Linked DNA regions of Homo sapiens: regions 2, 3, 4, 5 and 6 are each linked to region 1. The links are contacts of gene promoters, found by promoter capture Hi-C in blood cells and fetal thymus (Javierre and others, 2016). All regions are on one chromosome and are shown on one strand. Each heading gives the region's core, a stretch centred on a gene start or on the middle of the fragment in contact. The rest is flanking DNA. Distances are from core to core; before and after follow the strand shown. Region 1 holds the start of RERE-AS1 (RERE antisense RNA 1). Region 2 overlaps RERE (arginine-glutamic acid dipeptide repeats). Region 3 overlaps RERE (arginine-glutamic acid dipeptide repeats). Region 4 overlaps RERE (arginine-glutamic acid dipeptide repeats). Region 5 overlaps RERE (arginine-glutamic acid dipeptide repeats). Region 6 overlaps RERE (arginine-glutamic acid dipeptide repeats).

What was found. The method cuts DNA at HindIII sites, captures the fragments that hold promoters and counts their contacts. A CHiCAGO score of 5 or more calls a contact.
Region 2: a fragment that was not itself captured here is called in contact with the fragment with the promoter of RERE-AS1 in region 1 in 2 of 17 cell types (naive B cells and total B cells); the score reaches 7.3 in naive B cells.
Region 3: a contact is called between a fragment that was not itself captured here and the fragment with the promoter of RERE-AS1 in region 1, in 9 of 17 cell types (total B cells, activated CD4 T cells, naive B cells and 6 more). The highest score is 10.3, in total B cells.
Region 4: a contact is called between a fragment that was not itself captured here and the fragment with the promoter of RERE-AS1 in region 1, in 1 of 17 cell types (total B cells). The highest score is 6.1, in total B cells.
Region 5: a contact is called between a fragment that was not itself captured here and the fragment with the promoter of RERE-AS1 in region 1, in 6 of 17 cell types (total B cells, megakaryocytes, naive B cells and 3 more). The highest score is 8.5, in total B cells.
Region 6: a fragment that was not itself captured here is called in contact with the fragment with the promoter of RERE-AS1 in region 1 in 14 of 17 cell types (total B cells, naive B cells, megakaryocytes and 11 more); the score reaches 18.5 in total B cells.

The regions. Positions count from the first base shown.
Region 1 is chr1:8,422,962-8,426,440 of GRCh38, reverse strand. It overlaps RERE-AS1 (RERE antisense RNA 1), which reads right to left and starts at 1,796. Exons shown (of 4, transcript NR_125999.1): 1 at 1,740-1,796. The region is part of intron 11 of RERE (arginine-glutamic acid dipeptide repeats); the gene reads left to right. RefSeq lists silencers at 2,207-2,346, 2,657-2,996. The HindIII fragment of the contact is 3,073 bases long and covers 1-2,159 here.
Region 2 is chr1:8,763,618-8,767,168 of GRCh38, reverse strand. All of the region lies in intron 1 of RERE (arginine-glutamic acid dipeptide repeats), which reads left to right. Among named protein-coding and RNA genes, the nearest start is that of RERE, 52 kb to the left of the region's middle. RefSeq lists an enhancer at 3,049-3,098. The HindIII fragment of the contact is 2,615 bases long and covers 299-2,913 here.
Region 3 is chr1:8,726,884-8,730,633 of GRCh38, reverse strand. The region is part of intron 1 of RERE (arginine-glutamic acid dipeptide repeats); the gene reads left to right. Among named protein-coding and RNA genes, the nearest start is that of RERE, 89 kb to the left of the region's middle. RefSeq lists an enhancer at 1-222. The HindIII fragment of the contact is 3,283 bases long and covers 578-3,750 here.
Region 4 is chr1:8,743,957-8,747,591 of GRCh38, reverse strand. All of the region lies in intron 1 of RERE (arginine-glutamic acid dipeptide repeats), which reads left to right. Among named protein-coding and RNA genes, the nearest start is that of RERE, 72 kb to the left of the region's middle. The HindIII fragment of the contact is 5,613 bases long and covers 1-3,635 here.
Region 5 is chr1:8,684,548-8,688,267 of GRCh38, reverse strand. The region is part of intron 1 of RERE (arginine-glutamic acid dipeptide repeats); the gene reads left to right. Among named protein-coding and RNA genes, the nearest start is that of RERE, 130 kb to the left of the region's middle. RefSeq lists a silencer at 963-1,012. The HindIII fragment of the contact is 4,572 bases long and covers 1-3,720 here.
Region 6 is chr1:8,707,837-8,711,338 of GRCh38, reverse strand. The region is part of intron 1 of RERE (arginine-glutamic acid dipeptide repeats); the gene reads left to right. Among named protein-coding and RNA genes, the nearest start is that of RERE, 110 kb to the left of the region's middle. RefSeq lists an enhancer at 516-1,016. The HindIII fragment of the contact is 6,249 bases long and covers 1-3,502 here.

The sequences.
Region 1 (3,479 bases), core at 547-3,046:
TCTCTGTCGCCCAGGCTGGAGTGCAGTGGCGCAATTTCGGCTCACTGCAAGCTGCGCCTCCCGGGTTGACGCCATTCTCCTGCCTCAGCCTCCCCAGTAGCTGGGACTACAGGCGCCCACCACCATGCCCAGCTAATTTTTTGTATTTTTAGTAGAGACGGGGTTTCACTGTGTTAGCCAGGATGGTCTCGATCTCCTGGCCTTGTGGTCTGCCCGCCTCAGCCTCCCAAAGTGCTAGGATTACAGGCATGAGCCACCGCGCCCGGCTGAAAGACACTTCTTAGGAAGAATACTGAGGACTTTATGATTTGACATTGGACCCGAGAAGAGGAAAGTACAGACTCATAGAAAATGGTAACAGAAAATAGTTACCACTGTAGACGCCTGCCTGCATTTTACAGAGTGTGGCTCTGAGGATTTGAGGGGGCTTAAGTTTGAATTCTGGCTTTGTCTCTGAGGAGTTGATCTAGTTACCTATCTGTGCCTCAGCTTCCTTGTCTGTAAAATGGGGATAATAATTGTACTTCTTCTTAGGTTGTAAAGATTTCGAATTAATATATATGAGGCTCCTGGCATATAGTAGGTACTTAGTAACTATTGGTTGAATGGATGATGTTCAAAGGATTGCATCACAATAAATGGAAGAAACAGGATCTGAATTTGTTTGTCCAACTCTGCCACCTTACCCTGATGTTCCAGAGTCAGCCTTTCTCACATGCTGCCTTTATTGTGTAGGCCTCTTTTACTGGACCTGTTAGATGTCACTTGGTATCAAGCCCACGTTCCGATTGCATGGTCCTGGCGTTCCACAGCCTGGCTCACTCCAGATTGCCCGCCCCAAGTCTGTGTAGACTGTCCCCTGTAACCCACCTCCCATTCTCCACCTCTGACCTTCACGGAGGGCCCGGTCACCAAGCCACCTCCCACCCCTGCAATAGTTGCCCACCCCTTGTGATCTCGCTGATGTCACTGCCTTGGCGAAGGCATTCTGAACTACTACAGACCACTGCAGTCTAGCCTTCTTGGGTCCCTTGCTGCACTGATGAGCTGCACCTCACTTCTTTATGCTTGGCCAGATGACATCTCAGAATGTTCTGTAATGACTTCACACATACTTATCTTACGTGCAAAAATGAATCACAGTTCAGTAAAGGTCCATGGCAACCTTTATTATCTTCCTAGACCCCTCTCAGCTAGGTGCTCAGTAAATACCTGAATACTTGAAGAATGGATTAAGCGGCAGGAATTCTGATTACTGAGGTGGAGTGTGCCAGTAGTTGAGGTCCTCATCTCATACCTGAACTGTGTCAGCAGCCTCTTTAACTGGTCTGTCCCTAATCTACACTTAGGCCACACTGCCACTGGCACAGTCCTCATCCAGTCTTTTCATGGAAAGCTCCAGCTTCAGCCTTTCTGCCAGCCTACAATTAGGAACTCTTCCGTGCGGCCTGAAGGGCTCTCTGCAACCGGATCCTTGCCTGCCTCTTTCGTCTTATCTGCTGGCACTCCATTCTGCACACCCTGTCCTCCTTGCAGTTCCCAGAATGTTCCCTGTGCCTTTTCCTGGCTGACTTCTGCTGGAAGCCCTGCTGGAGCCCACCTGGCAGGCTCACACTCTTCCTTGTCACTTCCTCTAAGACATCAGCAAGCAGAGTAAGTTGCTTCCTCTTCCTAGCTTCACCCACCACCCTTTGTTCCTCTGCTGCTTTTCTTGCAGGCCCTAGGACTGGTTTGTTTACCTGTCTGCCTTCCTGGGCAGACTGCAGCTCCTTGAGGGCAGGGCCATCTTTCCGTGCCGTCTCTCCCGGTGATATGCTGTGTGCACACAGCGTAGGATGCCTGTTGATCATATAAACGATACTTTTGTCAAGTAACAAAGGTCACTCCTCACACTAGAGGAGAGCTTGCTGCTTTCTTGTGCCTTGAGAGATTTTCCCTTCGAACTGTATGAATTATATTGAAAATTGACAATGATGAGTCATATCTCAGCAAGGGTGAAATTCAAAAACGCAAAGCCTCCACTACTGGAGTAGGAGGTTGCAGACTGGTCTTAAAAGGCTAAGTCTGGCCCTTCACTGAATCCGCCTGGCGGGTCTCAAACACAGGGAGTGGGAGGGACCCTCTGCCCGGTGGGCAGGTGATTTATTGGCTGGGAAGCTTCCGCGGTGATTTAGTTGTGAAGCGGCGGCCGGGGAAGTGCAGGCTAATGCCTGGGCCGCCAGGGAGAGGCCGCCCACAATCGCGGGCCGGAAGGGACCGCGGGGGGCGTCGGGGCCAGCCCCCCGTTTCGCAGCTGAGGCGGGGTTGGGGCGGAGGGCGTGCGGCCGGGGCGCAGCCGACTTCGTCCATCCGGAACGTGGGCTGGAGACCCAGCAGCCTGGGAAGGGCCCCAGCCCTGTGGGCGCCCTCTCCCCACGCTTGCTGCGGTAGGGAGGAAGTTTCTGTGCTTTACCGCCTTGATGTTCTCCTGTCCGGAAGGAGGACACAGATTCCAGCGCCGGGTGCCCTGGAGGCTCCGGCCTCGGGGTGGGGGTCGGGCCGGGGGCGGGGCCGGGGCCGGGGCGCGGGGCCCCGGCTGGCGGACAGGAGGGCGGCGGCAATCCAGGCCGCCTTTTGCAGCCGCCCGCGGCCGCGCCGGGCTCTGCGCGCCGCGCTCCTGCCTCCTCCCCCGTCAGCGGCGGCCCCAGCCCCGCGCCCCCCGGGCCCCGCGCCGCGCGGCCCCGCCGCGGTCACACGCCGAGCCACCCGCGGCCGCCTCCGCCCTGCGCTTTGTGGAGCCGGAGCCCAGTGACAGGCGACGGCCTCTTGCCGCCCCGGACCCCGGGCGCTTACCTGTGGCTGCTGGGGTCGGCCGCCCGGGACCAGGCTGGGAGCCCCGAGGTGGGGGCTCGGAGCCAGGAGCTGCCCCCACCGGGGCGGGGAGGGGTGCTCGGGAGGCATGGGACAAAGTGAAAGTCTCCGGGCTGGGGTTAGGGACGAGTCTGCTGCGAAAATGGATGGGGGCGGCGAGTGGCGTCGGGAGGGCGGAAGGGGTGCTGGTTATTCTCTGGTGTCTCGGAGTGGCTTTTAATGACGGACGGTGGGGCAGGCCCGCTGGCTTTCGTGTTCCCGGTGGGCTTCTGTGATACTGGTGCCTTCCGGTGCCTCCTGGCAAATTCTTTGGATTAAGGAAAGCGGCCTTTTAACCCCCTAGGGTTCCCTTCTGGAGAAGAGTCACCGGGTTTGGTTCTGTTTCCCCTTTCTGCTCGACACTTCTGGGAAGCTTGGTTCTCAGGTGGGAAAGCAGTTGTGTTTTATTAAAACATGGAGCATATTTATACCTTCGTGCACCAGAATGTGTGCCTGGTGGAAGAGGGGGACAGATTGCTTCTTAGCCTCAGACGCAGGACGTCCTTCTCTTAAACGCGCTGCCCTGCGTGGTGGGTGGGATTGGGGTTCTGATGAAGGTAGCTGGGGCCTGCCCTGGCCAGTGGGTCCCA
Region 2 (3,551 bases), core at 357-2,856, 340 kb before region 1:
TAATGCTACATGCCAGTGATACCCAACTACTTACAGTTTCTGGTGTAGAAAATGAATAGTCAATTTATTGTTAAAAAGTTTAAAGTCCAATTTTCCTTGAGCCTTGAGTTCAGTTTATAAATCATATTAGTCTATTCATTAATTCAGTACATTTTATATAAAGGTAAAAGAAAAATAATGCAGTTTTTGATACATGTTGATTAATTCAAGTTGAATTCTGTTTAAATATCCAGTTCTACTTATAAACATAACTAACATTAAATTGCATTTTAAAATTAGATAAATGCCCAAGAAAGCTTCCAACAAAACCTTAAAACAAAACCTTCTTAAAACCTTCTCTAAGTCCTTATATAACTTTTGTAAATATAATTAAATTTCACAATATTGTGAATTTTCCTGCTCCCAAACATGTCTTTCTGTGTTTTCCTGTTTTGATAAATGCTACTCAATTTTCTAAGTAAGTAACCCTGGGCTGTGTTGATTCCTTCTCTTCTCCCCACTATATAGAATCAAGTATTGTTTCTTTTTCCTGTATCTCTTATCTCTTCCTAATCCATTACGCTAGTTCAGGCCACTGTCTCTCTCTCTCTCTTTTTTTTCTTTTCTTTTTTTTTTTTTTTTTGCAATGGAGTCTTGCTGTGTTGCCTAGGCTGGAGGGCAGTGGTGTAATCTTGGCTCTTGGCTGACTGCAACCTCCACCTCCTGGGTTCAAGTGATTCTCCCACGTCAGCCTCCTGAGTAGCTGGGATTATAGGTGCGTGCCACTACATCCAGCTAATTTTTTGATTTTTAGTAGAGATGGGGTTTCACCATGTTGGCCAGGCTGGTCTTGAACTCCCGACCTCAAGTGGTCTGCCAGCCTTGGCCTCCCAAGTGCGGGGATTATAGGCGTGAGCCACTGCACCTGGCCACTGTCTCTTGCTTGAATTACTTTATAGATTCCAAACCAGTTGGCATGTTCAAATCCTCTAATTTCTAACAAAATTAGAAATTTTGTTCTTCACTGCTGTAGTCCTTTTGATCTTTTGTTTGTTTTTTCTTTTTGTTGTTGTTGTTTTGAGATGCAGTTTCATTGTTGCCCAGGCTGGAGTGCAGTGTTGCAATCTCAGCTCACTGCAACCTCTGCCTCCCAGGTTCAAGTGATTCTCCTGCCTCAGCCTCCCAAGTAGCTAGGATTACAGGCATGCACCAGCACACTCGGCTAATTTTTTTTTTTTTGAGACGGAGTCTCGCTCTGTCGCCAGGCTGGAGTGCAGTGGTGCGATCTTGACTCACTGCAACCTCCGACTCCCTGGTTCAAGCGATTCTCTTGCCTCAGCCTCCCGGGTAGCCGGGATTGCAGGCACGTGCCACCATGTCCTACTAATTTTTGTATTTTTAGTAGAGACGGGGTTTCACCATGTTGGCCAGGATGGTCTCGATCTCCTGACCTTGTGATCCGCCTGCCTCGGTCTCCCAAAGTGCTGAGATTACAGGTATGAGCTACCTCGCCTGGCATAATTTTGTATTTTTAGTAGAGATGGGGTTTCACCAGGTTGACCTGGCTGGTTTTGAACTCCTGACCTCGGGTGATCCATCCACCTCAGCCTCCCAAAGTGCTGGTATTACAGACATGAGCCACCGCATCCGGCCTTTTGTTTGGTTTTATAACAGCTTTATTGAGATACAATTCACATATCATATAATTTACCTACTTAAATTGTACAATTCAATTGTTTTTTGTGTTCACAGAGTTGTGCAATCATCACTGCAATTTCAGAACATTTAATTATGCCCAGAAGAAATCCTGTATCCATGAGCAGTTACTCCTCATTTCCTCCTCTACTCATCCCCCAGCCCTAAGCAGCCCTTAATCTTCTTTCTGTCTTTATGGATTTGCCTATTCTGGACATTTCACGTTAATTGAATCATGTAGTCTTTTGTAACTGGCTGCTTTGACTTAGTATAATGTTTTCAAGGTTCACCCATGTGGTAGCATAACATCTGTACTTCATTCCCAATAAATGCCAAATCATAGTCCATTGTGTGGCTATGCCACATTTTATTTATTCACTAGTTGATGGACACTTTGAATGGTTCTACTTTTTGGCTGTTAAAAAAATGCTGTTGTGAACGTTCATGTACAAACTTCTGTGAGGATGTGTATTTGCATTTCTCTTGGGGTGACTTCCAAAGCCTAAGAGTGAAATTTTTGGGGGGTATGGAACCTCTGTTTAACATTTTGAGAAACTGACAAACTGTTTTCCAAAGTGGCTACACCATGTTACAATTTTACTAGCAATGCATGAACCTTGCAGTTTTTCCACATTAGCACTAATACTTACTATCTGGGTTTTGGATTGTAGCCATTCTGATGGGTGTGAAGTGGTATCTTACAGTTTTGATTTGCATTTCCCTAATGAGGTTGAGCCTCTGTCTTGTGCTTACTGGCCCTTTGCTTTTTTGGAGCCTTTGATCTTTTAAAAATAGAAATCTGGGTGAATTACGTCCCTGAGTAATGGCTGTGTGGTGAACATTCTTTTCTTCTTAGCCTGGTCACCTCTTGCTTGCTTCAGTTTACAGGTAATTTTCTTCAGGGAGCCTTCCTTGAACCCCGGCTGTTTGCATTCAGCCCACTCTGTTGTTGTGATTGTTTATCTAGACTTCCTTTCTGACCACACTAAGCATAGTTAACAGAGATTATACTTGGCATGGGATTGACTGGATGACTGAATACATAGATGACTGTAGCTTTTTTTTGTTTTTAAACATTTAACTTAAGAAAAAAATTCTGTCTTGGAGTTAGTACCCGAAGCAGTATTTCATGATTTTTGTGTGTTCCTTGTTTCCTCTCATTTTCCCGATGGCACTAAGGCACCTGGCTGGGATCCTATAGAGAGCGACACATTGCAGTTGCTCTCTGCATAGTAAGCTTCCCCCAAGAGTCATAGATGAGGCAAAACCCATGTGTACTCTGAGGCCAGGGCTGAGTGCATAAGGAGCAGCTGCAACTTGCCCTGGGGATATTCTTTGACCTGGAGGAGGCAGTGATGAGGGAAAGGGAAGACAGCGTGGGAACCATCTTGATAAGAAGCATGGGGTTCTGAGAAATAGCCTCCTAGGATTGGTACACTGCAGCTGGTGGCAGAGGTCTTCTTGACCTTGAGTTAGCTTTTTGAGTGAGAATAAATAACAGTCAACTAGCACCTTCACTTCCTGAATTATAGGAGGGACTTTTTTTTTTTTTTTTTAGACGGAGTCTTGATCTGTTGCCAGGCTGGAGTGCAGTGGCGTGATCTCGGCTTACTGCAACCTCTGCTTTCTGGGTTCAAGTGATTCTCCTGCCTCGGCCTCCCGAGTAGTTGGGACTACAGGTGCGCATGCCACCACACCCGGCTAATTTTTGTACTTTTAGTAGAGATGGGGCTTCACCATGTTGGCCAGGATGGTCTCTATCTCCTGACCTCGTGATCCGCCTGCCTCGGCCTCCCAAAGTGCTGGGATTACAGGCATGAGCCACCGTGCCCGGTCTTGTTTTTTGTTTGTTTGTTTTTTGAGACGGAGTCTAGCTC
Region 3 (3,750 bases), core at 970-3,469, 300 kb before region 1:
TAGTGGCTCATGCCTGTAATCCCAACACTTTGGGAGGCTGAGGCAGGTGGATCACCTGAGGTCAGGAGTTCAAGACCAGCCTGACCAACATGGTGAAACCCTGTCTCTACTAAAAATACAAAAATTAGCTGGGTGTGGGGACGCATGCCTGTAATCCCAGCTACTTGGGAGGCTGAGGTAGGAGAATGGGGTGAACCCGGGAGGCGGAGCTCGCGGTGAGCCGAGATCGCGCCACTGCACTCCAGCCTGGGCAACAGAGCGAGACTCTGTCTCAAAAACAAAAACAAAAACAAAAAAAACCCCAAAAACAAATGGGGGAAATTACTTTTCTAAGTTACAGGGAGAGTCAAAACCCGGACTAGAACCTGGGTCTCTTGACTAGATCATCTTCAAGCTGTATTTTTGTATCTACATATAGTGACCTTCAAAGGGATTCATTATATTTCATCTTGTGTATTGTATGTTTGACAAGTATATTTGTTTTGATGGTTCACTGATTTCAGTCCTTGGTATTTACCTCAAGTTCATTCTGGGATCTGGTTCTATTCATACACATTATCATAGCTATTTGGAAGCTTACTTGAAATCTTCTCTTTGAAAGAAATATCAGCCTATCTCAGGTGTGAGCTTCAGTGTAACATTGATGTGAGTGAAATAGTATGTTATATAGAAAATTTTATTTTCCCCTGCCATCCCTTACATAAGATTTTTTAAATACCTGAAAGAAAACCTTAGAGCTCTTCATTCAGTCTTTGGAAAAGCCTGATGTGAACCATCATATGGGAGGAATCAGCTGCATCTGTCATTCTTTCTTCCCATGAGTTCCCATAATTTCATTTTCTTAATATGTAGTATAGGGTGGATAGCAGTCATAATCCCCTTTTCCATCTCAAGCCAGCCCACACTCCTTAGCCTCATGCACATGACATTCCTCTTAAGTTGTGATCTGGAGAAGGCTGGAGATGTTTGCTGTTGGCAGTCTTTTTCTGTAAAGGGCCAGATATAGTAAATATTTAGTCTTTTCAGGTTGTATGGTCTCTGTTTCAAGTATGGAACTCTGCCATTGTAGTGGGAAGACAAACAACCATAGAAAATACACATAAAAAAATAAGGCCAGGTGCAGTGGCTCATGCCTGTAACCCCAGCACTTTGGGAGGCCGAGGCGGGTGGATCACAAGGTCAAGAGTTCGAAACCAGCCTGGCCAACGTGGTGAAACCCCGTCTCTACTAAAAATACAAAAATTAGCCAGGCATGGTGGCACGTGCCTGTAGTCCCAGCTACTTGGGAGGCTGAGGCAGGAGAATCACTTGAAACCAGGGAGGCAGAGGTTGTGGTGAGCTGAGATTGTGCCACTGCACTCCAGCCTGGGCAACAGAGCGAGACTCCATCTCAATAAAAAAAAAAAAAAAAAAAAATCGGTGTAGCTGACTTCTAATAAAACTTGATTGATTGATTGATTGATTGAGATGGAGTCTCACTCTTGTTGCCCAGGCTGGAGTGCAATGGTGTGGCACGATCTCAGCTCACCGCAGCTTCCACCTCCCGGGTTCAAACGATTCTCTGCCTCAGCCTCCTGAGTAGCTAGGATTACAGGCTTGCGCCACCATGCCCAGCTAATTTTGTATTTTTAGTAGAGACAGGGTTTCTCCATGTTGGTCAGGCTGGTCTTGAACTCCCGACCTCGGATGATCACCTGCCTCGGCCTCCCAAAGTGCTGGGATTACAGGCATGAGCCACTGCGCCTGGCTATAAAAGTTTATTTTCAAAAACAGGTGCAGTCTCTTGGCCCTAGTTGCTAGCTGCTGTTTCAGAGCCTGTGGAAATCTTACCTTCACTTTATGCCCCAAAGGATGCCATCGTTTTTATCTACTGGATGGGATCCCCAAGATTACTTAGATTGTTTTCAGAAGTAATAACAGATATCTGGGTATGGAGCATAGCATCTTAGTTTTAGTTTCTTTTTTGAGGGATGCTTTTTGGTGTTATGGTATACCACAGGTGCCTAGAGAAAATTCCGTTTTAGGTGCTGTCCTTTGAGGAAATACTGCTGATCTCAAATAACTGTGGGTAATTGAAATATCATACCTTTTAATGGTGACTACTAATCCCCTAAAAAGAATATAGACTTTTTCGCTCTAAACATGGTTTCAATAGGGTTTTTTTTTTTTTGATGGTCTCTTATGACTCTAGATTGAAACAAACAAGAAAATAACCCTACTTCTATAGTTACTATAACAGCTGAGGCAAGCTATACTACCAGTGGTGCATGGTAAAGCCTGCCTTTTAATAAGTTCTTAAATATAAAGAATGATAGAAAGTTTCAAGTTATGGTGTGTTATAGGTGCCTATGGAGTTATTAGGTTAGAGGAATGATTTTAATTTACTTGGATTCCTTAGCACATTGCTTATTGCATGCGTGCTCAGTAAAAGTGGATACTGGTGTTTGTGCTTTGCAGCTACCGCAGGTCTTGGTTGTCATGGCTTCTCATTAGTGCATTAAGATCCCTTTAGAGCTCTGGTTGCCTGGCAAGAGAAAAGGCAGGAACTGCCAGGAGCTGAAAGGACAGATGCTTAGCTGCAGAAGTAGCCTCTGGGGAGCGTTGGCTGCGTTGGCTGAGGTTCGTGTGCATGTGGTCAAATGTGTGAACTTGGGTTTTGCTAGACAAAACTCTGGGCTACATGGATTAATTAATATATGCTACAAGTGGTCTTTGTTTTAGAAGTCTTTGCAGTTTGAGCTATTTAAAACTTTTTTTAAATAAGCAAATTAGAAGATTCTGTTTGGGGTGCATTCCTGTCCTTTGGGGAAGTACTGCTGACCTTTAAGAATAGTGGGTAATTGGCCGGGCTCAGTGGCTCACACCTGTAATCCCAGCACTTTGAGAGGCCGAGGCTGGCGGATCACGAGGTTAAGAGATCAAGACCATCCTGGCCAACATGGTGAAACACCGTCTCTACCAAAAATACAAAAATCAGCTGGACGTGGTGGCGCGTGCCTGTAGTCCCAGTTACTTGGGAGGCGGAGGCAGGAGAATCGCTTGAACCCGGGAGGCAGAGGTTGCAGTAAGCTGAGATTGTGCCACTGCACAACAGCCTGGCGACAGAGCGAGACGCTGTCCAAAACAAACAAACAACAAAAAAATAAAAAACAGTGGGTAATTGAAATATTGTATGTTTTAATAATGACTACTAGCCAGATGCGGTGGCTCACATCTGTAATCCCAGCCCTTTAAGAGGCTGAGGCGGGCGGATCACCTGAGGTCGGCAGTTCAAGACCAGCCTGACCAACATGGAGAAATTCTGTCTCTATGAAAAATACAAAATTAGCTGCGCATGGTGGCGCATGCCTGTAATCCCAGCTACTCACGAGGCTGAGGCAGGAGAATCGCTTGAACCCTGGAGGCGGAGGTTGTAGTGAGCCGAGATCGCGCCACTGCACTCCAGCCTGGGCTACAGAGCGAGACTCCTTTCCCCCCACCCCGCGCCCTCCAAAAAAAAGACTACTAATCCACTGAAAAAAGGTCAGTTGGCTGGGCCCAGTGGCTCATGCTGTAATCCCAGCACTTTGGGAGCCAAAGGCGGGTGGATCACCTGAGGTCAGGAGTTTGAGACCAGCCTGGCCAACATGGTGAAAACCCGTCTCTACTAAGAGTACAAAAATGAGCTGGGTGTGGTGGTGCATGGCTGTGATCCCAGCTACTCTGGAGGCTGAGGTAGGGGAATTGCTTGAACTCAGGAGGTGGAGGTTG
Region 4 (3,635 bases), core at 631-3,130, 320 kb before region 1:
ATATTTAGAGTGTCTTAAATATAGTAGATACTCAGTAAATCAAGTATGAATATCATGTGTTGATTTATCTGTCTTTCCAAAGTTGTAATTGGTAGCAAAAAAAATTAGGGTGTTTAAAAAAAAAAATTGGACAAAACTTTCTTTGAGCCTTCATCACCTCTGGCCTGGTTACCCTAGCAGGTTCTTAACAGGTCTTGTTCTCCCTGCCCACCTCCCACTTCCATGCCCACCCCCATGCCATTTGTTTTCACAACACAGCAAGCCTAAGGATCCTTTTAAAAGTTAAGTCAGGGCTGGGCGCGGTGGCTCATGCCTGTAATCCCAGCACTTTGGGAGGCCGAGGTGGTCAGATCACGAGGTCAGGAGATCGAGACCATCCAGGTTAACATGGTGAAACCCTGTCTCTACTAAAAATACAAAAAATTAGCTGGGTGTGGTGGTGGGCCCCTGTAGTCCCAGCTACTCGGGAGGCTGAGGCAGGAGAATGGCGTGGACCCGGGAGGCGGAGCTTGCAGTGAGCCAAGATCGCTCCAGCCTGGGCGACAGAGCGAGACTCCGTCTCAAAAAACAAAAAAGAAAGTTAAGTCAGATCCTGTCCCTCTTCTGCTTGGGACTTTGCAATAGCTTGACCTTTCACAATGCCATCTTGGGGTGTCTGTCTGTCTGGCTCTGTCTCTCTCTCCCTCTCCCTTTCTCTCTCTCTCTCTCTCTCTCTTTTTTGTTCCCCCATCTCTCTTCTCTCTCCCCTCCCTCCCCTGCCTGCCCTCCTTCTCTCTCACTTCCCCCCCATACACGCTCCCACACTTGCTTGCCCCAGCCACACAGGCCTTCTTGCTGTTTCTCTTATCTGCCAGGTGTCCTCTTATAACTGTTTCTTTGGCCCTGAGTACAATTAATTGTAATGTAAGTCAGACCACGATCATGACTCGTATGTCAGTATAGTCTCTGACTTATGATTCTTTGACTTAGAATTTTGTAAGTTTATGATGGTGCAAAAATGATACACAGTCAATAGAAACCATACTTTGAGTACCATATAACCATTTTGTTTTTCACTTTCTGTATTCAATAAGTTACATGAGATATTCAAATTTATTATAAAATAGGCTTTGTATTTTTTTTCTTCTTCTGGTGGTTCTAGCAGAAGTTATGGGGAGGGTTCTCAGTGGTTCTTACTGAGACATGGGTCCATTCTTGAACAAGTCATGGTGGCCAGGAGGATTTAGTATGGTGAGCAACCCTGGATCCACCCAAACTACATGTTATTAGGTCCCCATATGAAGTGGTAGTTCCCTAGAGTAAAGTCAGTAAGGAGGGTGCTTTGTTAAACAGACAAAAGCTATCATCAGACTATGATTTACGTTAACATAGATACAATCTCTTTGAACAGAGATATAAACAGAGTACTTTGGCAATACCCTGAAGGCAACAAATAATTCTGATTGTGAGGATCAAAGAAATTTTCACAGAGGTTACATTTAAACTGGGCCTTTCAAAAGTAAGAGGAATTTTATTTGGTTTTGTTTTGAGATAGGCTCTTGCTCAGCAGCCCAGGCTGCAGTGCAGTGGCAGGATCATGGCTCATTGCAGCCTCAACTTCCTGGGTTCAAGCAATCCTGCTTCAGCCTCTCGAGTAGCTGGGACCACAGGCATGTGCTGCCATGCTTGGCTAATTTTTAATTTTTGTAAAGATAAGATCTGCCTGTGTTGCCTAGGCTGGTCTTGAATTCCTGGGCTCAAGCGATTCTCCTACCACAGCCTCCCAAAGTGCTAGTATTACCGGTGTGAGCCACCGTTCACGACCAGTAAGAAAGATGTTTTAAAACAGAAAAGAAAGGGAATATATGTTAGGGGGTGGAAAAGTATGTATGCCAAGACATGGAGGTTCAAGCCTGGAAGAGAAGGGGCTGAGGACAGAGGTCCAATCCGTATATTAGAGTATTAAGGAGTTTAGACTTCATTCAGTGAACCGTGGAATCCTGTAGAAGTTTTAAGCAGGAGTATAATGTCATCGCACCTCCTTTTGCAGTTTAGCCAGGCGATCATGACAGCTGAACCTAGGCCAACGGTGGTCTGGAATGGAATGGGACAGATGGAAAACATTTGGGAGATAGAAATGAAATTATAATAGCTGGACATGCCAAGTGTCAGTAGTTGAGAGAAACGTAACCATGTGTATTAGTCTGTCTTTGCACTGCTATAAAGAAATACCTGAGCCTGTTTAATTTATAAAGAAAAGAGGTTTAATTGACTCCCAATTCTATGTAGCTGGAGAGGCCTCAGGAAACTTACAATCATGGCAAAAGGCAAAGCAGGCACCTTCACAAGGTGGCACGAGCGAGTGAGGAGCAAAGGAGGAAGAGCCCCTTATAAATCCCTCAGATCTCCTGAGCACTCACCATCTCTAGAACATCATGGGGGAAACTGCCCTGTGATCCAATCACCTCCTGCCAGGCCTCTCCCTAGACACGTGGGGATTATGAGGATTACAATTCAAGATGAGATTTGGGTGAGGATACAGCCAAACCAAATCACCATGGAAGTCACTAGAATGCCCTGGGGTGAAGTGGTAGAGGAGTGGTTTATACCTGAGAGTTTCTATTCATGGACCCACTTGACTGGAGGTAGGATAAACTGCATCTACAGCGCCACGTATGTCATGGGAAAATCAAATTGTCCTAATATGTGATTTTTGTTTTCTTGGGTCTAGGTGATTTTGAAGTTTTCCATTTTAGACTATGGGCATTTGTCTCCATTATCCTGTACATACTATTTATTCCATCTTAATAGATTTAAGAAGTCTTTTTGTATGGGGAACATATATTTTATTTGTCTCTTACCACAAAATGCAGTGTAGAACTTTGTACGTTTTAGCTTACTGACTTCTGTTAACTGATTAACACCTCTATTTCTGTGTTTTCTTATTTTATCGCTAAAGTTTGAAGGTCATCTCTTTTAGACCATATTATGAGCTATTTAGATCAGTTCTGTCTTTCCTATTGTTTTAATGGCCAAATGGCACACTGGTTGGTATACTTTTTCTATCAAAATTACCTGATTGAGAATGTACCCATCAGTTACATTGCTGTGTATGTTTTAGATAGTAGGCGTGTTTAAGAATGCAGCTAATACAGTGTTTGTGAAGAGTTGTATTATTAGAGGGCATGTATGTGGAAAAACAAAGGTGAAACGGAATTCTCCCTGTGGTTAGTGTGACCCTCATAATGTTATAAGTGGTGTGGTGTAAATCGTTACTACCCACATATGGAACTTAAGCAGTTTACATTTTCTACATCAGGGTTTTCCATTGCTTTAGCAGGACATAGAATTCCTTGCTTTTTGTTAAAACGTACGTGAGCACCCAGGGGCAGCCTTAATGATTTTTGGGTGTAGTTGGAATAACAATTTCATTTTGAAAAGTCCTTTGGGCTTTAAGTTAAATGAAAGGGAATCATCTCTTAAAAGTATGTCCACTCCCACTTTGAGAGCTTTTCATTTCACAGCATCAGTATTAAGATTAATTTCTGGGACTGTCTATTTTCTTTCATTCAACCACTATTTATTGAGCACCTACTGTGCTTCAACACACAGTTCTAAGTGCTGAGGAAGCAGCAGCAAGTGAAACAAACCCAAAT
Region 5 (3,720 bases), core at 264-2,763, 260 kb before region 1:
GATAGGGGTCTCATGTTCTCCAGGCTCCTCTCAAACTCGTTGGTTCAAGCGATCCTCCTGACTTGGCCTTCCAAAGTGTTGAGATTATAGGCGTTAGTCGCTGTGCCCTGAACTGAAAGTGAAAAATGGAATAGTTGTGTGGTTACCTAGAGTATGTTTTCCACTGAATGCGTATCACTTTTGGACTGTTGTTAATTTGAAAAAATCGTATGTTAGACCCTCTTAAGTTGGGGACCATCTGTGTTCATAGAGTTGTGCAACCAGGACCATATTATTAGAAATAGATTTTTATATGGCAGTTCTTGGTGATTAATTGAATGCTGTTAGATAATCTTTTTGTGTAAATTTGTACTTCTGTGAATAAGAATATAACTAAACTAAAACTAAATTTGTACTTCTGTGAATAAGAATATAAGATGTTTTACTTTGCAATATATAATTGGCTTAAGGCATTAAAACCCTGCTTTTGTTTACTGTGGTCTGACATAAGGGAGTTAACTTCAGCTTAAGGTTATTAAATCCTTCAATGACTGATGACTCCCTTCAAGTTATGTATGACGAAGCAATTATGAATATGGTGTGAAAATGGGATGTAATCTCTTTCAACACATTATTTGGAGAAATTACGACTCTCCCCAAGTATTGTATATTCAAATATGTTAGACACTGACCATTTTCAGCAGTTTGTTAGAGAATTTTTTATTTATAGTAGAAAGTCAGAGTCAGCCTTTATGTCTCAGATTTGGTGAGTTTCTCAGTGTTAATTCCCAATTGGTTAATAAACGTCAAATGGAGCTTTAAGGCTCCTGGGCAAGTCCATTCACTTATGCAGTTTCTTAGATGCCTGTTTCATACATTGTCCTTTTATACTTCCTCCTTGGCCTCATGGTGGGCTTCCTACTTGCATGAGAAAATCAGAACAGTCTTAAGAGCCCTTCTGCAGACTCCTACCACATCTTGCCACCTTCCAGGGCATCCTGTGCTTTCCCCACTGCTTGTGTATAGACCAGCTGTTCAGGGAACTCTCTGAGGCGCCACCCGTGCCCTCTCACATAGTAATTTCCTGTCTCTCATAATGTTGATGTTTCATTCTCTGCTGGATCTTTCCCAGCAGCATACAAACATGCCGCTTTTCTCCAATCTTAAAACAGATACAAACTCCCGTATTTGGATCCCACTTACTCTGCCAGCTATTGCTGATTTCTCTGCTTCCTTTGCAGAAAAACTTCTCAACAAGAGTTTTCTGTACCCAGATCTCCAGTTCTCCTTTCCTCTTAAATCCATCCGTTGTTGCTCCAGGGAAACTGCCCTTGTGATGATCACTAAGGCCTCTGCACTGACTGTTCCTTCTGCCTGGGATATGTTTCTCCAAATATCTGTAGCTCACCGTCCCGCTTTCGAGTCTCAGTGAGAGGCCTACCTTGACCCTCAGTCTCGGCTCTACTTTGTCCTTACTCTGCTCTGTTTTCCCCTAGAGTACTTGTCTTCATCACAAACTACACCTTTATTTTTTTTTTGAGACTGAGTTTCGCTCTTGTCGCCTAGGCTGCAGTACAATGGCGTAATCTCAGTTTACTGCAACCGCCACCTCCCGGGTTCAAGTGATCCTGCTGCCTCAGCCTCCCAAGTAGCTGAGATTACAGGCACCCACCACCACACCCAGCTAATTTTTGTATTTTTAGTGGAGATGGGGTTTCACCATGTTGGCCAGGCTGGTCTTGAACTCCTGACCTCAGGTGATCCACCCGCCTTGGCCTCCCAAAGTGCTGGGATTACAGGCATGAGCCACCGTGCCCGGCTACATCTTTATTTTTATTGCTTATTGTCTTGTTTCTTCCACCAGAATGTAAAGTCCTGAATGACAGAGAATTTTGACTCTTTGGTTTACTGCTCTATCTCCAGCACATAATAGGTGTCTGATAAATATTTGTTGAATTTCTACGTAATTCCCTAGGATGCATGGCTTTAAAAATTACCTAAATGCAGGCTAGACACAGTGGCTTACACCTGTAATCCTAGCACCGTGAGAGGCCAAGACGAGCGGATTGCTTGATCCCAGGAGTTCAAGACCATCCTGGGCAACATGGCAAAACCCCGTCTCTACTAAAAATACAATAAATTAGCCAGGCATGGTGATGTGCATCTGTAGTCCCAGCTACTTGGGAGTCTGAGGTGGGAGGATTGCCTGAGCTTGGGAAGTCGAGGCTGCAGTGAGCTGAGATCGTGCTACTGCTCTCCAGCCTGGGTGATGGATGTGAGACCTTGTTTCCAAAAAAAAAAAAAAAAATTACCTAAAGAGTTTAAAATGTTATCTTTAGTCCAGACCTACTTAGCTGCCTTCCTTGTATCTCCACTCAGAAGATATAGCTCCACTCACATGTCCAGTAAGCACCTAACACTTAACATGTCTAAATGGAACTCTGATGTTTTTCCCCAAACCACATATCATTGTGGAGTTTTATTTTTAACTTCTTCAGCCAGCTGAGTTTTATGCACCAGCTTCTTTTCTTTGGTTTATACATTGTACCACCTGAAAAACCAGCGGTAATTGGAGCAATCTTAGGTTATTTAAATTAGTCTTATTTGGCATCTCTAAAGCAGTCACATTTTTGGACATTGAAAACGATTCTAAACAGTAGAGTAGCTGGGACTACAGGGGCGTGCCACCACACCCGGCTGATTTTTTTTGTTTTTTTGTGTGTGTGTTTTTAGTAGAGACAGGGTTTCACCGTGTTAGCCAGGATGGTCTAGATCTCCTGACCTCGCGATCCACCCACCTCGGCCTCCTAAAGTGCTGGGATTACAGGCGTGAGCCACCGCGCCCGGCCTTAATAGATAAATCTTTATTGTGGATTTCTTAGGATTATTTGTATTTTGTTGTTTTAATACTTGGAAATATGGTTGTAGCTTTCAAAGTAAGGAAGTAATGATAATTGTTATTGAAACTTGGATGACTTTAAAATATTTTACTTACCGTTATTTAGCAAATATAAAATGCTTCCTGGAAAGCCTTTCTGTGTGTAGTAGGTAAACTGTTGAATCAGGAAATGTGTAGTTTAAAAGTTCCTCTCTATGGAAGCATCAAATTAGTTCTTTAAAATCCAAATTTGGGCTGGGTGTGGTATGTCACTCCTATAATCCCAGTGCTTTGGGCAGCCTAGAAGAGAGGATTGCTTGAGCCCAGGAGTTTGAGACCACCCTGAGTAACATAGTGAGACCTTGTCTCTACAAAAAATTGAAAAATTAGCTGGCTGTGGTGGCACGTGTCTGTGGTCCCAGTTACTTGGAAGACTGAAGCAGGAGGATTGCTTGAGCCCAGGAGGTTGAGGCTGTAGTGAGCCATGATCGTGCACTGCACTCCAGCCTGGATCACAGAGTGAGATCCTGTCTCAAATGAATGGAATGAATGAATGAATGAATGAATGGATGAATGAGTAAAGGGATTTCCCACCCATTGCTGGTATTTAGCTTCTGGAGGTGACCAATTAGTGTTTCCTGTTTATTGCAATTGCAGGAGGCAAAGATGGTGGTGACAGGAAGGCTTCTCATAGGGAGAGGTGGGTTAACAGCTCATAGGGAGAGGTGGATTAACAGGCATCAGATTGTGCTTGGGTTTGATTATCCTTTGTAGGAGCTATACTTACTATTTCACCAAATACTTTTGAACTTGATTATTGCTTAATTAATCATTCTTGTTTGTTTTTAAATCTCTAGTTGAAA
Region 6 (3,502 bases), core at 352-2,851, 290 kb before region 1:
TTGATGACTAATGTCATAACAGTTTGCTGTGATGCCCCCGGGAGCCTAGTGGAAAGTTGTATTTTTTGTTTTCTGGAGTATATTTTTATAATGCTGATAATGTATTTCATGATATAATACTTTAAATACTTATTAGCAGTTTATCACTCCCTTTTTTTTTTTTTTTTTTTTTTTTTTTTTTGGAGACAGAGTCACACTCTGTCACCCAGGCTGGAGTGCAGTGGCTCGATCTGGGCTCACAGCAGCCTCCGCCTCCCAGGTTCAAGTGATTCTCCTGCCTCAGCCTCCCGAGTAGCTGGGATTATAGGCATGCGCCACCATGCCCAGCTAATTTTTGTAATTTTAATGGAGATGGGGTGTTGCCATGTTGGTCAGGCTGGTTTTGAACTCCTGGCCTTAAGTGATCCACCCGCCTTGGCCTCCCAAAGTGCTGGGATTACAGCACTTTGCTACTGTAATCCCAGTAGTTTACAGGTGTAAGCTACTCCGCCTGGCCTATCACTCTTAAATATGTTTGGGACTATGGCCAGGCACGGTGGCTCACGCCTGTAATCCCAGCACTTTGGGAGGCTGAGGCAGGCGGATCAAGAGGTCAGGAGATTGAGACCGTCCTGGCTAACACGGTGAAACCCCGTCTCTACTAAAAATACAAAAAATTAGCCGGGCGTGGTGGGCACCTGTAGTCCCAGCTACTAGGGAGGCTGAGGCAGGAGAATGGCATCAACCTGGGAGGCGGAGCTTGCAATGAGCCGAGATCATGCTACTGCACATCAGCCTGGGTGACACAGCGAGACTCCGTCTCAAAAAACAAACAAACAAACAAATATCTATGTTTGGGACTATGTTGGAAAGTAAAACATGAAGGAAGGTTGTAACTAATGCCCAACCTTAATGTTGTACCTATGTTATTTCACTTTAAAGTGTGCTATTCAGAGTTTTACTAAAGGCCAGTCTGTCTTGGGCTTTTTGTTTTCTTTTTATAATCTGATGTTATTTCTAGTTATTTTTCAAGAGTATATTACGTAGACTGCAACAGTATATTCAAGAGTATATTACGTAGATTGCAACAGTCCCCCCAGGACTTAGGGGGAAGAACATTTTGATTTGGTTTGGGATTGAGAGTGTCTGTGGAATGCCATTATGGTGGAACCCATAGGGCATTTGCATATGTGGGCCTCTTGCTAAGAAGCAAGCTCAGCTGGAAAAATCAAATTTTGGAATCACAAACACAGAAACAGCTTGAGAGTGGATCTTTTCACTGATGTGAGATGGCCGAATGTGATAAAAGGAGGCTTGACAGGGACTACTTGTATTTAGGAGGAGTCATGGAAAGAAAGAGAGAATCGCCAGAAAGGTAGGAGATCCAAGAGAGTGCCTAATCCAAAACCAAACCAACAAAAACCAGAATAAGAGTATGGGAACAGGACCAGGACCCACTGCTGGTAAGAGTATAAGTTGTACAGCTTTTGGATGGCTGTTTGACTCTCTCTGAAAGAGTGTATATTCATTGAACTAGGGATTCCTTCAGTGTAGAAATACATGTATGCACAAAGAAGTTTGTTGTAGCACTGTTTATAAGAGTAAAAAATGTGAAAAAGACTCAATAAGGGGCTTGTTATATAATAATTATGGGACTCCCACACTGTTCAGTTCTTTGCAGTAATAAACAAGAATGGGATGTTAATGGTCTTCTGTAAAGTGAGAGAAGTGACTTGCTGTATAACATAAATAGTGGGATTTCATCTTTGTGACAAAAAATCAACAAGTGAACCCTCAGACAAATGAATACATATGTTTTTATGTATATGTGCATGCTTTTGTACCTATGTTCTAGAGAAGAGCCTGGTAAACCTTCAGCCTGTTAAGTGGAATTGCTTGGATTTTCCGTAGGACCATATACTCTAAAAAAAATCTACAAGGGAGCTGGGTGCCGTGGCTCACCCGTAATCTTAGCACTTTGGGAGGCCGAGGTGGGTGGATTGCTTGAGCTCAGGAGTTCATGACCAACGTGGGCAACATACTGAGACCCTGTCTCAATATAAGAAAAAAAAAAATTAAAAAATCTAAAAGAGCTTCAAGAATTTTATATTTTTCTTTTTTCTTTTAAAAACTCTAGAGTTGCCGGGCACGGTGGCTCACGCCTGTAATCCCAGCACTTTGGGAAGCCAAGGCGGGCAGATCATGAGGTCAGGAGATCGAGACCATCCTGGCTAACACGGTGAAACGCCGTCTCTACTAAAAAAATACAAAAAAAATAAATTAGCTGGGTGTGGTGGCGGGCACCTGTAGTTCCAGCTACTCGGGAGGCTGAGGCAGAAGAATGGCGTGAACCCAGGAGATGGAGCTTGCAGTGAGCCGAGATTGCACCACTGCACTCCAACCTGGGCGACAGAGTGAGACTCTGTCTCAAAAAAAAAAAAAAAAAAAAAAAAACTCCAGAGTTTTTGTTGTCTAGTGACATTTTGGTGAGTTGGAAAAGCAAAAGAAGTAGATAGTTTGCTTAAAATTGTAACTCCATGTATTAGTATATTTTCATGCTGCTGATAAAGACATACCAGAGACTGGGAAGAAAAGAGGTTTAGTGGACTCACAGTTCCACGTGGCTGGGGAGGCGGAAGGCAAAGAAGAGCAAGTCACATCTTCTATGGATGACAGCAGGCAAAGAGATGGAGAGGTTGTGCAGGGAGACTCCCATTTTTAAAACCGTCAGATTGGCCGGGTTCAGTGGTTCATGCCTGTAATTCCAGCACTTTCGGAGACTGAGGTGGGTGGATTCAGTGAGGTCAGGAGTTCCAGACCAGCTGGCCAACATGGTGAAACCCTATCTCTACTAAAAATAGAAAATTAACTGGGTGTGGTGGCACACACCTGTAGTCCCCAGCTACTTGGGAGGCTGAGACAGGAGCATTGCTTGAACCTGGGAGGTGGAGGTTGTGGTGAGCAGAGGTTGCGGTGAGCTGAGATCATGCCACTGCACTCCAGCCTGGGGGTCAGAGTGAGACTCCGCCTCAAAACAAAAACAAAAACAAAAACAAAAAAGCAACCATCAGATGTTGTGAGACTTATCCACTATGACGAAAACAGCATGGGAAAGACCTGCCCCCATGATTCAGTTATCTCCAACCGGGTCCTTCCCACAACATGTGGGAATTATGGGAGCTACAAGATGAGATTTGGATGCGGACAAAGAGCCAAACCATATCCCTCCGTATTCTGTATAGGACAGTAGTTTCCTCTTACCCTTGGGAATGTGTTCCAAGGCCCCCGTGGGTTCCTGAAACTGGATAATACTGAACCCTGTTTTTACTATTTTCCTACACATACCTACCTATGATAAAATTTGATTTATAAGGGAAATTAAATTATCAATAATAAGAACAATTATAACAATACATTGTAATGAAAATTATATGAATGTGGCCTCTCAAAGTATCTTACTGTACCTTAGTCACCTATTTTTGAACTGTAGTTGACTCAGGGTAACTGAAGCCTTGGAAAGCGA